Regions from separate parts of the Homo sapiens genome. Here region 1 is linked to region 2. Evidence: promoter capture Hi-C in human tissues and cell types (Jung and others, 2019). All regions are on one chromosome and are shown on one strand. The core of a region is centred on a gene start or on the middle of the fragment in contact, and the rest is flanking DNA. Distances in the headings are between cores, read along the strand shown.

Region 1 (5,679 bases), core at 950-3,449, 93 kb after region 2:
ACAAAATATACAGACAATGGCCAGACCACATATAAAAACAGAACTCTGACCCATAACCTACAGCAGCCTGCCTAGGAAATCAACCCACTTTTCTACAATAAACAGCCCAGGAAGCCACTTGCTGTAAGTCACACTTGTAGGAAGTCAGACTTTCTCTGGTAACAATCCAGGAAACTAAACAGTAACTCCAGTAACAGTCAGCTCCAAATGGCCAGGACTTTATTAATAACTGACAACTTCCCAAATTTTTGTTCCTGTTTCTAACTTAGGAGCAACGTAGGAAAGCCAAATACGTACCCTAAACCAATCCCATAGGATGCTGTGCATCTAGTTAGCTATCCTCAGCTTCCCCATGCCAACAGCCTCCAATCAGGGAACATGCGAAAAAAAGGGTGATACCTTTTCCACTATAAAGCTTTCCTACTCCTCTGCTGGTCTTTGAGTCTCTCCCAAAATGGAAGTGATGGTGGCTGACTTCTTTGTTGTAGAATAGATAGCCTTTACTTTCTTATTTGGTTAGTCTTTGTTTTCACAGAAGTTATTGGCGAACTCCATTTATTAAAGTCATGGGTGCTGATATGGTTTGGCTCTGTGTCCCCACCCAAATCTTACCTTGAATTACCCCACATGTTAGGGAGGGACATGGTGGGAGGTGATTGGATCATGGGGGCAGTTTCCCTCATTCTTTTCTCGTGATAGTGAGTGAGTTCTCCTGAGATCTGATGGTTAAAAAGTGTGGCACTTTCTCCTTCTCTCTCTCCTGCCACCATGTAAGATACGCCTTGGTTCCCCTTTGCCTTCTGCCATGATTTTAAATTTCCAGAGACCTTCCCAGCCAAGCGGAACTGTGAGCCAATTAAACCACTTTTCTTTATAAATTACCCAGTCTCAGGCAGCTCTTCATAGCAGTGTGAAAATTGACTAATACAGGTGCTTTTTGAAAATGCAGTTTCCTGGACTCCCCACAGGTTTACAGAATCAGAATCTCTGGGAGTAAGGCCCAGAAATTTGCATTTTCATCCATAGCCCTAGTGGCTCTCATGCATACTAATATTGAGGACCAGTGTCCTAGAATATTTGGTGATTATCTTTCTCTGGCATTTGTATCACACCTATGTTCATCCATAGCCCTAGTGACTCTTGTGCATGCTAATATTGAGGACCAGTGTCCTAGAATATTTGGTGATTATCTTTCTCTGGTTTTCGTATCACAACTATGTTATGTGTATGAAATACCTAACTATCCCCACTTGTGTGTTTCAAAAGGTCCTTTTGCCTACAGGAGCAGGCTAAATCTCATGACATTCCCCACACTCAATCCTCACCCAGAATTCCTGAGCTCTGGGGAAGGTGCCATCTCCAGCCTGGTTTGCAAGCCAGAAACACAGGCTCTCTCTTACAGGGAAAATGAAAATACATTTTAAAAATGTGAATAACCCCCAAAATATCAGGTAAGGCACATAAAACAAAAATAAGGCGGCGTCAGTAGAAAACACAAGACAAAATGAAATGCAGCGAATCACTGGAAATGTTGAGGGAAGTAGCAGTTCTGGGTCAGGGGAGGCAGAAACAGCTACAGCTTGGGAGCTGTGGCCAGTGTGTTCTCTGAGAGGTAGCTATGCAGACCCAAGCTAACAGCCAACCCCAGAAACCTCAGCCTGATTCAGATTCACCTCAGGGTGAATCTGGTGACTCAGCCTGAGTGGGAGCAGTTTCACTACCCGACTCTCTGTGTAATTTAATCTTGTGTTTGCAGCCAATACCTAGCCAATACAGAAAATTAATGTATGGGAGGAGGCCAGCTGCTCTTGACATGGAAAGTTCAGATTATTTTCAAGCTTCAAGAAGGGAACCAGCGACAGGGATAAATGAATGAGTAGAGCCACTTACCAGCAAAAAGCGTTGGAATTTTTTCTATACCACTCCAGCCCCTCATTGCAGGGCTGCTGTAGAGAACTGATGTCCCCAGTTCTGCCCATCTCAGGTATACTCCAGGAGGCTCGCCGGCTGACAGCTTCCTTGCTCTGCCGCCTGTGTGAAGGGGCTGCCACTCTCTGTTCTCAGGTCTTGGTGACTGATGATGGGTCCATTTTTCCTTTTGTTGATGTTATAAGTGGGACTGTTAATTCTATTTTTGGATTGTTCATTTCCCAATCTTTTTTTTTATTATTATACTTTAAGTTCTAGGGTACATGTGCACAACATGCAGGTTTGTTACATATGTATACATGTGCCATGTTGGTGTGCTGCACCCATTAACTCGTAATTTACATTAGGTATATCTCCTCATTTCCCAGTCTTTTAAGACATACCAAATAATTTTCTCTGTGAGTGTGAGCTTACAGAAAAGAGCTCTCGTTGTCTTTCTGGCAGCAACACCGTTGATAATGCATTGCTGGCAATATCTACTTGTGGTTTTCTGTAAAAATGCTGTGAGTTTAAGGACATTTACCTAATAGTCTGACTGGGAAATCCTAGATTTTAGTAATTAAAAAAATACATTGCTTTGCCTCTAGCAAATAAGAACAATGTCTCTTTGCTGATTCAGATATATTGAATCTTTCCAAAGCATTTGCTTTAGTTAAAGCAATTTTTGATTAGTATTATTCTAATTAGAACAATTTTTAAATTTTTACAGATGAGGTTTCACTCTGTTGCACAGGCTAGTCTCGAAATTCTGGCCCCAAGGAATCCTCCTACCTCAGCCTCCTGGGTTGTGGGGATTACATGTGCTTGCTACTGAAGCGGGCCAATTAGTATTTTTTTAATGGACAAGTTATAATTGTGTGCATTTATTTGATACAATGTGATGTTCTAATTCATGTAACGGAGTTCTGGGAAAGTCATACCAACCTACAGTGGTACCTTTGTGGAAAGATTAAATCAAGCTAATTAACATACCCATTACCTTGCTTATTATTTTTAGTTTTAATAGAGCCAGTAAATCTTTTCACACTCGAATTTAACTTATATTAAATTATTTATATTGTACAACTTACACAAGTTAAATTAATTAACTTGTTTATCTTATATTAAATTAGGCAATTATAATAACTAGTAAAAATTTTATATACTGGTTTGGCATAAACTTAATTGATTGGAGTAAAAGTAGGCAAGGATTTGATTCTAAAATGAAGCCTTAAAATCTTGAGCTTTATTTTGACTATTTTTTTCTCATTATGTAAGGTACTTTATTATTTATTTTTAAAATAATTTTAAGCTTTAATTGAGCTAAGCCTATTCAGTAAGTTTTTCAGTATACCTAGAGAATAAAGGTTAATTGAGGCTGCAGTTAGGAAGATTTCTCTCTTTTTAAATTTTTATATTTTGTAGATATTTTGTAGGTATGAGGTGTCACTATGTTGCCCAGGCTGGTCTTGAACTCCTGGCCTCAAGTGATCATTTTACTTCTGCCTCTCAAAGTGCTAGGATTACAGGTGTGAGTCATTGCACCAGGCCAAGAAGAATTCTCTTAAAAGTCAATTTTTTTTTCTGATTGAATTGGTGGTTTCCAGTCCCTTCTTTTTTGTTGTTTTTTGTTTGTTTGTTTGCTTGCTTGCTTGATTTTTTTAGAGACAGAATTTGTGCTGTCACCCAGGCTAAAGTGCAGTGGTATAATCATAGCTCACTGCAGCCTCAAACTCCTGGGCCCAAGGGATCCTCCCACGTCAGCCTCTCAAGTAGCTGGGACTACATGCATGTGCCATCAAGCCTGGCTAATTTTTTTGTATTTTTAGTAGAGACGGGGTTTCACCATGTTGGCCAGGATGGCCTCGATCTCTTGACCTCGTGATCCACCCACCTTAGCCTCCCAAAGTGGTGGGATTACAGGTGTGAGCCACCGCGCCCGGACTACCATCTGTTCATTTTTAAAATGAATCTTGCTTGGGACTACAGGCCCCAGAATGGAGATAGCACTTCTTCCTGCAGGAACCAGGGACCACCTCACTCTCTTGACACTACAGAGCCTGCCTTCCTTAGCCCCTGCTTGTTAGGTGCTCCTAAATGCAACCTTTGTGGCCATACTTAGCATGCAGTGTCCTCCCTCAGGCTGTGAGCATACGTGGGGCTAATAATCTACTGTTGATTTTATCCACCCAGAATTAACGTCCTGTGTTTTGCCATCCCCACAGCCCTAGGGTGGGCATCCTTTTCTTATAAACAAGGTAAACAGGAGGCAATTAAAACAATAAAAAATTTTAAAGAGAAGTTTAGTGTTCATAAATGTCTTTAACATTAAACCACCGATAGTCTAGAGGCAGCCTTTCAAACTTCTATAAATTGGAATAGACTTTGGAGATGAATCATAACGGCTGAATAGATGCAGGTATGTTTGTCTCCCCCACAGAGAAAACCAGAATAGCAAGTAGATACTCACATTTCAAACAAATGGTCTAGGAGAGAATGCTGAGGTTCACCAGAGAAGAGATGGGAAGCACCAGAAGTAAGAAAAGGGTTTGAGGCAGCTTGCCCACCTGGGATTGACTGAGCTGGGAGAGGCTCCTGGAATGTGTGGGGAAGCAGTAAGAGAGAAAGCCCCTGGGCTCCACACTCCTAGACAGGCTTTTATAATCTTGGCTGTGGGAGAAACCCCGGACTCATTAGGGCCTCCGGCCTGACATATGAAGCTGCCCAAAGATGTTGCTCCAGAAAGGGAACCCCCACACACTCCCACAGGCATCTGAACCCTGGGCAGCCTCAGATGGGCACCATTTTGAGAGCCCAGACATCAGGTATCTACAGACAGCTGCTGCCACTTTACTGCTGCAAGGAGGCAGAGGGGAGACCAGGCACTCCCATGCACCCCTGGGAGAGTTACTGCCTCCCTGCTGAAGGCTGAAGTTGAGACTTACACGTGAGCAGACTGCATTCCCCATAGCTTCTTGCCCATGCTGCTTGCCTGCGAGGGACCTCAGCCTCTCTGGTTGCAGGCCCAAGGTGCAGTTTCCATAGTTTAAGTTCAGGCTGTGCCCTGCCCTTGGCCTCAGTTTGAGTTGACATGGCTGCAGCTGTGGCCCGGTTTAGGAGGGACAGGGAGTCCAGACTCCCTTATACATACTCAAGATAATACTCAACACCCTGCTATGGGATGATGCTTTTCTGGGAGGGATCTCTGTTTTGTCTGGTCACAAGCCCACAGCTGGCACCATTTTGAGAGTTTAACACTTGGCTGTGCCCCGCCCTCCAGGTGAGTTTGAGGTGATGAGTTCCACACCCTGCTGGGAGAGGAACAGGGTAGACTAAGCTCTCTTACCAAACAGGGTAGTCCAAGCTCTCCAGGGTACACCACACTTAGGACAGTGACCACTGCAGTACTACAAGTGACTGTGGGACTGGGGACAAGCCTGCCAACTGATCGCATCTTCTTGTAACACCAACATGGAGGGCTTGGGTCCCAGTGAGCTGTTCTACCACTGCTACTGCTATCTCCCATGCCACACCAGCTGCCCAGAGGTCTGAGAACCTGCCCACACACAGGGATCATCGTTCCCACTGCAAGCTTCTAAGCCAGACATCTGGAGGCCCAAGAATCAGCCCCTAGAACCTACTGACTGGAGCCAGGGTATGCTGCTCTGGGGCCTAAAAACAGTCATTCTCATCCCACTGCTGCTACTACTGGGGCCAAAGACTGGCTTAGTTGACGTCCAAGTTCCCAGTTAAACTTTACTACAACCTCAA
Region 2 (6,172 bases), core at 195-2,694:
TGCTTCAGCCTGCTTCAGCCGGCACCCCTTACAGTCTGTTCTCCCCACAGCAGCCAGAGGGAGTCTCTTGTACCTACACTAGCCCTGGTCCCTGCTCTGCGGGGGGAAGCCTCCCATGGCTCCCATCTCGGAGTAAAAGCTACAGTCCTCACTGTGGTCCACAAAGCCCTGCCTGGTCCTGCCCTTTCCTCATTTCATTCCGCTCGCCCGGCTGTGTTCAGCCACCCTGTCCTTCCCACAGGACCCGCCCACTCAACCCCGTTGGCTTTGCCCCCAGCACCCCCTGCCACCTGCAGGCCTCTGTCTGCTCCCCCATCCCAGAGCCAAGGCAGCCACTCTCAGGGAGGCTTTCCCTTGCCCCACCCTTCCAAGGAGCCTGTGTGGGTCTGGTCCCAGCCTGAGGTCACCCTCCCTCACCTCTTTCCTTTTATCCATCGCCTCTATCACCGTCTGAATTCACCTGTGGCCTTGGCTTGTTTCTCCCTGCTGGTCTTTCAACCCCAGGAGGCTAGAGTGGCACCGTTCTCCATGCCACATCTGGCACACTGCCTGGCACATAGTAGGTGCCTAATGGTAATAGCCCGTGGCTTTGCGGGCCCCCGTGTGCCAGGCAGTTCCTAGGTGCTTTGCCTGTATTGGCTCATATAAGGAGCAGATGGGCCGCGATTCCATTGACTTTGCCGAGGAGGAAGCTGAAGCCGGGAGGACCCGCCCCAGGCCTCAGCCAGCAATAAGATGAGCTGACCCTGGAACCCAGCTCCGCACTGAGTCAGCCTGGTTTTCCGCCTCCTAACAAAGGCACCAGGCATCAGGAAGGGGCGCCTTCATAAGGCGTCGCGGACACCTTGGTGTGTGTTAGGCAAAGCCTGCCCCTTCTTCCCGGGAGCGGGAGCGGGGCTTGGATTTCAGCCCATCCCCCCTTCTCACGCATCTTTGTGCTGTGAGCACCTGCCCCGGCCCACGTGGTGACCCGAGGAAGAAATGACCTTGTGAGGTTCAGTAAGCTGCTCAGGGTGTCAGCCAGGTGGCCTCAGCACCAGGCCTAGAAATGGTCCCGCTGGCGGGCACTTGCACACCTTTGCCTCTGGGATCCCCAGTCCAGCCCGTGCCCCCCTGCCACACTCACTTGTAGCCCACGTCGCACCAGCCCAGTGTCTTCATGTGGTAGTGCTGCACATTCCGGGCCTGCTGCTGGCACGAGGCGGGGGTGTTGCAGCTGCTGCCCGCCGTGTGCGATACCACCACATAGCGTAAGGGCAGGCTCAGGTGCTGGGCGCACTCTGATGCCAGGGCCTTCCACTCGTTCCGGGGCACTATGGGGCTGCAGCAGGCCGGGTCTTCTGTCTCCTGAGCCGCTCCGAGTCGAAGGAGGCTGGGGAGAGCCCAGGCAAGCAGCATAGAGCGGCGGGACATAGTGGCAGGGCGGCAGGGTCCGGGAGACCGCTAGGAGCGCCCGGTGGAGGGGCCGCCTTTATCTGCTGGGGGATTCCAGGAGTGGCCCGGAAAGTCTTGCTTCACACCCTGCTGGGACTTCCTGCTGGCCCAGCAGACCCCAGACTCAGCTTCCTTCTCTGGCTGGGCCAGGGCGGGATGCACTGTGGTTGGGGTCTGGGTCACGCCCACGGCAATGACAGGCCCCCTCGCTCAGCAGGGAGGGACGCACAGGCCCCTGGGCGCTTCGCCCCGCCGTTTCTGGAAGACCCGGGGCCGGGATCCCGGTCCTGCTTGTCTCTCCTCTCAGTGGAACATTGAACAACTCAACAGGAACTTACATCGCAGAGGCCCGGGGCATTGGCACATCTTCTCCCCGCAAGGACTGAGGTAACAAAGCTACCCATTTTAAAAACACTTCCTTCCCCCAGGTCCAAGCCTGATGCCATTTACGCTTGCAGCAAACTCAAGAGGTGAGTATCTGGAAGTCCATTTCACAGTGGAGTAAACTGAGGTTGAGAGCAGGGAAGTCACGGGCTGAGACACCGGAGGCACTGGAGCCCCGCGTCTAGAGCCAGGCTGCCTGCATGTGAATCCTGGATATGCAGTGTGTGAGAGCCTGCAAGTGGTTTTTAAAAATGTGTATTTAAAATTTTTTTTTTAATTTTCTATTTTATAAATAATATTTTCCTTTTTTTTTTTTTTTTTTTTTGAGATGGAGTTTTGCTCTTGTCACCCAGGCTGGAGTGCAATGGTGCGATCTTGGGCCACTGCAACCTCCGCCTCCTGGCTTCAAGTGATTCTCCTGCCTCAGCCTCCTGAGTAGCTGGGATTACAAGTGCACACCACCACGCCCAGCTAATTTTTATATTTTTGGTAGAGACGGGGTTTTGCCATGTTGGCCTGGCTGGTGTCGAACTCCTGACCTCAGGTGAGCCACCTGCCAGTGTTCCAGAGTGCTGGGATTACTATAGGCATGAGCCACCGTGCCTGACCTGTGTGGTGTGTTTTCATCTTCTGTGTTCTGCCTTCTCATATACATTGTACTCATGCTGTTACTGAATTGTGCACCAGGCATCTGTAGCACTTTTCAGAAATTATCATATACTCAACGACAAGCTTGCCAGATCCATGTTATTATTAACCCCTCTTACAGTTGACGGAACTGAGGCCCGGGGGGATGATCACATACAGGAGGTGATGAAGCCAGGGTTTGGCTACAGGCTTTCTGCCTGCAGAGTTATAAACCGTATTCTCCTCCCTACAAACTTATATAAGGACATTAAAAAAAAAAATCAAAACCATGTGCATCAATTTACCTTTTGTCACCTAATATTTCATGGGCATCTCACCAGGGCAGTACATCTAATTCTAATTTATTCTTTATAATAGTTGCACAATATGCTATAGTATCAGTTCAGCATTGTGGATCTTTTAGTTTTTGAAGGTTTTCCAGTATTTTCTCCACACTACGCAAAATATTTTCAGACATATATCCCTATGCACTGGTGCATTTATAAGTAAATTATAAACACAGAGTTATTAGGTCAATGAGTATACATATTTAATTAATATTACCAGATCATTTTCCCCAAAAAGCCATTAATAATTCATATTTTTCACCAGTAATGTTTTGGAGCCTCCTCACCCCGACCCCAGAAGTGGGTGTTATCACTTTTTTTTTTTTTTTTTTGAGTCAGAGTCTCGCTCTGTCACTCAGGCTGGAATGCAGTGGCACGATCTTGTCTCACTGTAAACCTCCACCTCCTGGGTTCAAGCCATTCTCCTGCCTCAGCCTCCCAGGTAGCTGGGATTACAGGCATGTGCCACCACACCTGGCTAATTTTTGTATTTGTAGTAGAGATGGGGTTTCGCCATGTTGGCCAAGCTGATCTCGAACTCCTGAGCTCAGGTGATCCACCCACCTCAGCCTCCCAAAGTGCTGGGATTACAGGCATGAGCCACCTTGCCTGGCCAGTGTTATCACTTCTTAAATTTATAAGTATAAAGTGACAGCTCCTTTGGCATTTTTATACCCACTCAGGAGACTGGGTATTTTTCTGTATTTGCTGTCTATATTTGGGCTTGCTCTTTTGTCAATTACCTGTTCATATCCATTGCCCATTAAAAAAAATTGGGTTGTTTGCCTTTTTGTTATTATTTGCAAAATGAACAAAAGAATCCCATAATTGGGATTTTTGACTTCTTGGGTGTGTACATTTTGTGTATTTCAGTTTTTTTAGAAGCATTAAAGAATAATGTAATATAAAAAGTGTGTAAACACATTTTTTATAGAGTTGATAGACTTAATAGAGTAGTGAGCTTATGAGTGTTCACGAAGTGAATCCACCTGTGTATCCAGTGCCTGGATTAAGAAGTAGAGCTACACTTAAAATTTTAATAGGAATTGGTAAATACAATACCAAAAAGATTTTAGTATATATTTTTCCCACAATATGATCAGTTTTTAAATGTTTTACTAATCCAAAGAACAAGATCTCATTATTGCTTTATTTGCATTTCCTTGAACATTAGAGAGGTGATTATCTTTTTACATATTTATGGCTATCAGCATCCATCTTCAAACTGTCTGTTCATCTCTTCTGATCATTTTCTTGTTGAGTTGTATATGGGGGATATTAACCCTATGTCTTATCAAATGTGCTGTAAACCCTTTCCTCTAATCTGTTAAAAAAATATCTAGGTTTTTCTTTTATGGTTTCTGTGTTTCCTGTCTTGCCTTAAGAGGGACTTTTCACACTAAGATTGTAAAACTTTTTCTATTTAAAAAAGATTATTTTGTGTTTTACTTTTAGATCTTTATCTCGGCTAAAATGTATACTTGCATGTGGTGTGAGGTAGGGGTCTGATCTTGTTTCCAGATGCCTAGCCGTTTGCCCAGGTTCTGTTTATTATATAGGTAGACCTGGTTTTAAATTTCCATTCTGCCCCTTATTAGCTACATGATCTTGGGAAATTGGATAGCAATTGACACAGTCGACCACTTCCTCCTTCTCAAAATACTTATTTCCCTTAGCTTTTGTGATGTAAGACTGCCTTGATTTTCCTTCTGCTTCTCTGGCTGGTCTTTTTTTCTCTCTCTCTTTTTTTCAGAGCAATTCTTCCCTCCTGGACCCTCAAACCATATATTTTGTGCTGAGTGATCTTATCCACATAATGGCTTCAGCCACAGTCAAAATGCAGAGGATTCCTGTATTTCAATGTCTAGTCTGGAGCTCTCAGTTGAGTTCTGGATCTGTGTATCCACCTGGCCACTTGACGCCTCCACTTGGATGTCCCACAGGCACCTCCAATGCAAAATGACTCATGACCTTCTCCTCCCCATCAGCACTCTCACAGGAGTTCCTGTCTAAGGAAATGGTATCACCATCTTCCCATTACAAAAGCCATACATTTGAGCACCATCCTTGACTAATTCCTGTTCCTTCCTCTGTTGTACCCAGTACCCAAAAGAATGCCCAGCACATGGTAGGTGCTCACTAAATAGCTACTTGATTGAATGGATATGCAACCCACCACCAAGGAATGCCACTGTGATGAATTAGAACTCTTCTATCTAATTCCATTCTCTGCACCCTGGTCCAGACACCACCTCCTTTCACCTGGATTTTGCCCTGCCTCTTCAGTGACCTCCCAGGATGCACTCTGGCCTCTGTGAAGCCAAAGCTCTGCTCAGATCTTTTCTAAAGTCACCCTCAAAAATGAGTCACATTTTTCATTGGCATCTCTTGATTCCTAGAATGAGGCCCAAGCTCCTCCCCATGGCCAACAGCATGGGCTGCCTACAGTATGGGCTGCCCCCATCCCAGCCTCACCTTGCTTACTCCCAAAAGCCTCTTTCTGACTCCTGCAGCCACTGTCCCCTTCTTGCTGCCCTTGAACATGCTTTGACTACCCTGTTCCCTTGGGGACTTCAGACACACCAGGTATAAGTTTTAAATAGAGGAACCTGGAACGAATTCAGGAACTTTGTACCTTAGCTTTAAGACAACAAAACACCAAGCCAGCCTTTTGTAAAAAGACAGGACTATTTACACATCACATTCCTTTTTTTAATTTTTATTTTCTTTTTTCCCTTTCTTTTGCCTGTTCTTTCATTTGAGGCACAGATCCCTTAAAGACACTAAGAATATAAACATTAGCCAGCTGGAGTGAAGCCTTCCATTGTGAGAGTTTTATTTAGTCTGTATCTTTAAAAAAATGTATTTACTTATTTATTTTTTGAGACAGTTTCACTCTGTTGCCCAGGCTGGAGTGCAGTGGCACAATCTTGGCTCACCACAACCTCCGCCTCTTGGGTTCAAGCAATTCTTTTGCCTCAGCTTCCCTAGTAGCTGGGATGACAGGTGCCCACCACCATGCTCAGTTAGTTTTTGTATTTTTTTTTTTTTTTTTTTTAGTAGAGATGGGGGTTTCACTATGTTGGCCAGGCTGGTCTTGAACTCCTGACCTCAGGTGATCTGCCTGCCTCGGCCTCCCAAAATGCTGGGATTAAAGGTGTGAGCCATATTTACTTACTTATTTTTACATACAGGTGTGAGCCATATTTACTTACTTATTTTTACATACAGGTGTGAGCCATATTTACTTATTTTTACATACAGGTGTGAGCCATATTTACTTACTTATTTTTACATACAGGTGTGAGCCATATTTACTTATTTTTACATACAGGTGTGAGCCATATTTACTTACTTATTTTTACATACAATACAAACAC

Evidence for each region. Contacts are between HindIII fragments. The study calls those that stand out against the background at their distance.
Region 1: a fragment that was not itself captured here is called in contact with the fragment with the promoter of PGLYRP1 in region 2 in 4 of the 25 tissues and cell types used here (IMR-90 fibroblasts, aorta, hippocampus and 1 more).

Annotation. Positions count from the first base shown.
Region 1 is chr19:46,113,926-46,119,604 of GRCh38, forward strand. It overlaps a transcript of IGFL2 not described here. Among named protein-coding and RNA genes, the nearest start is that of IGFL3, 7.9 kb to the right of the region's middle. The HindIII fragment of the contact is 4,320 bases long and covers 40-4,359 here.
Region 2 is chr19:46,021,609-46,027,780 of GRCh38, forward strand. It overlaps PGLYRP1 (peptidoglycan recognition protein 1), which reads right to left and starts at 1,445. Exons shown (of 3, transcript NM_005091.3): 1 at 1,127-1,445. The coding sequence starts at 1,413. RefSeq lists an enhancer at 53-938. The HindIII fragment of the contact is 20,258 bases long and covers 1-6,172 here.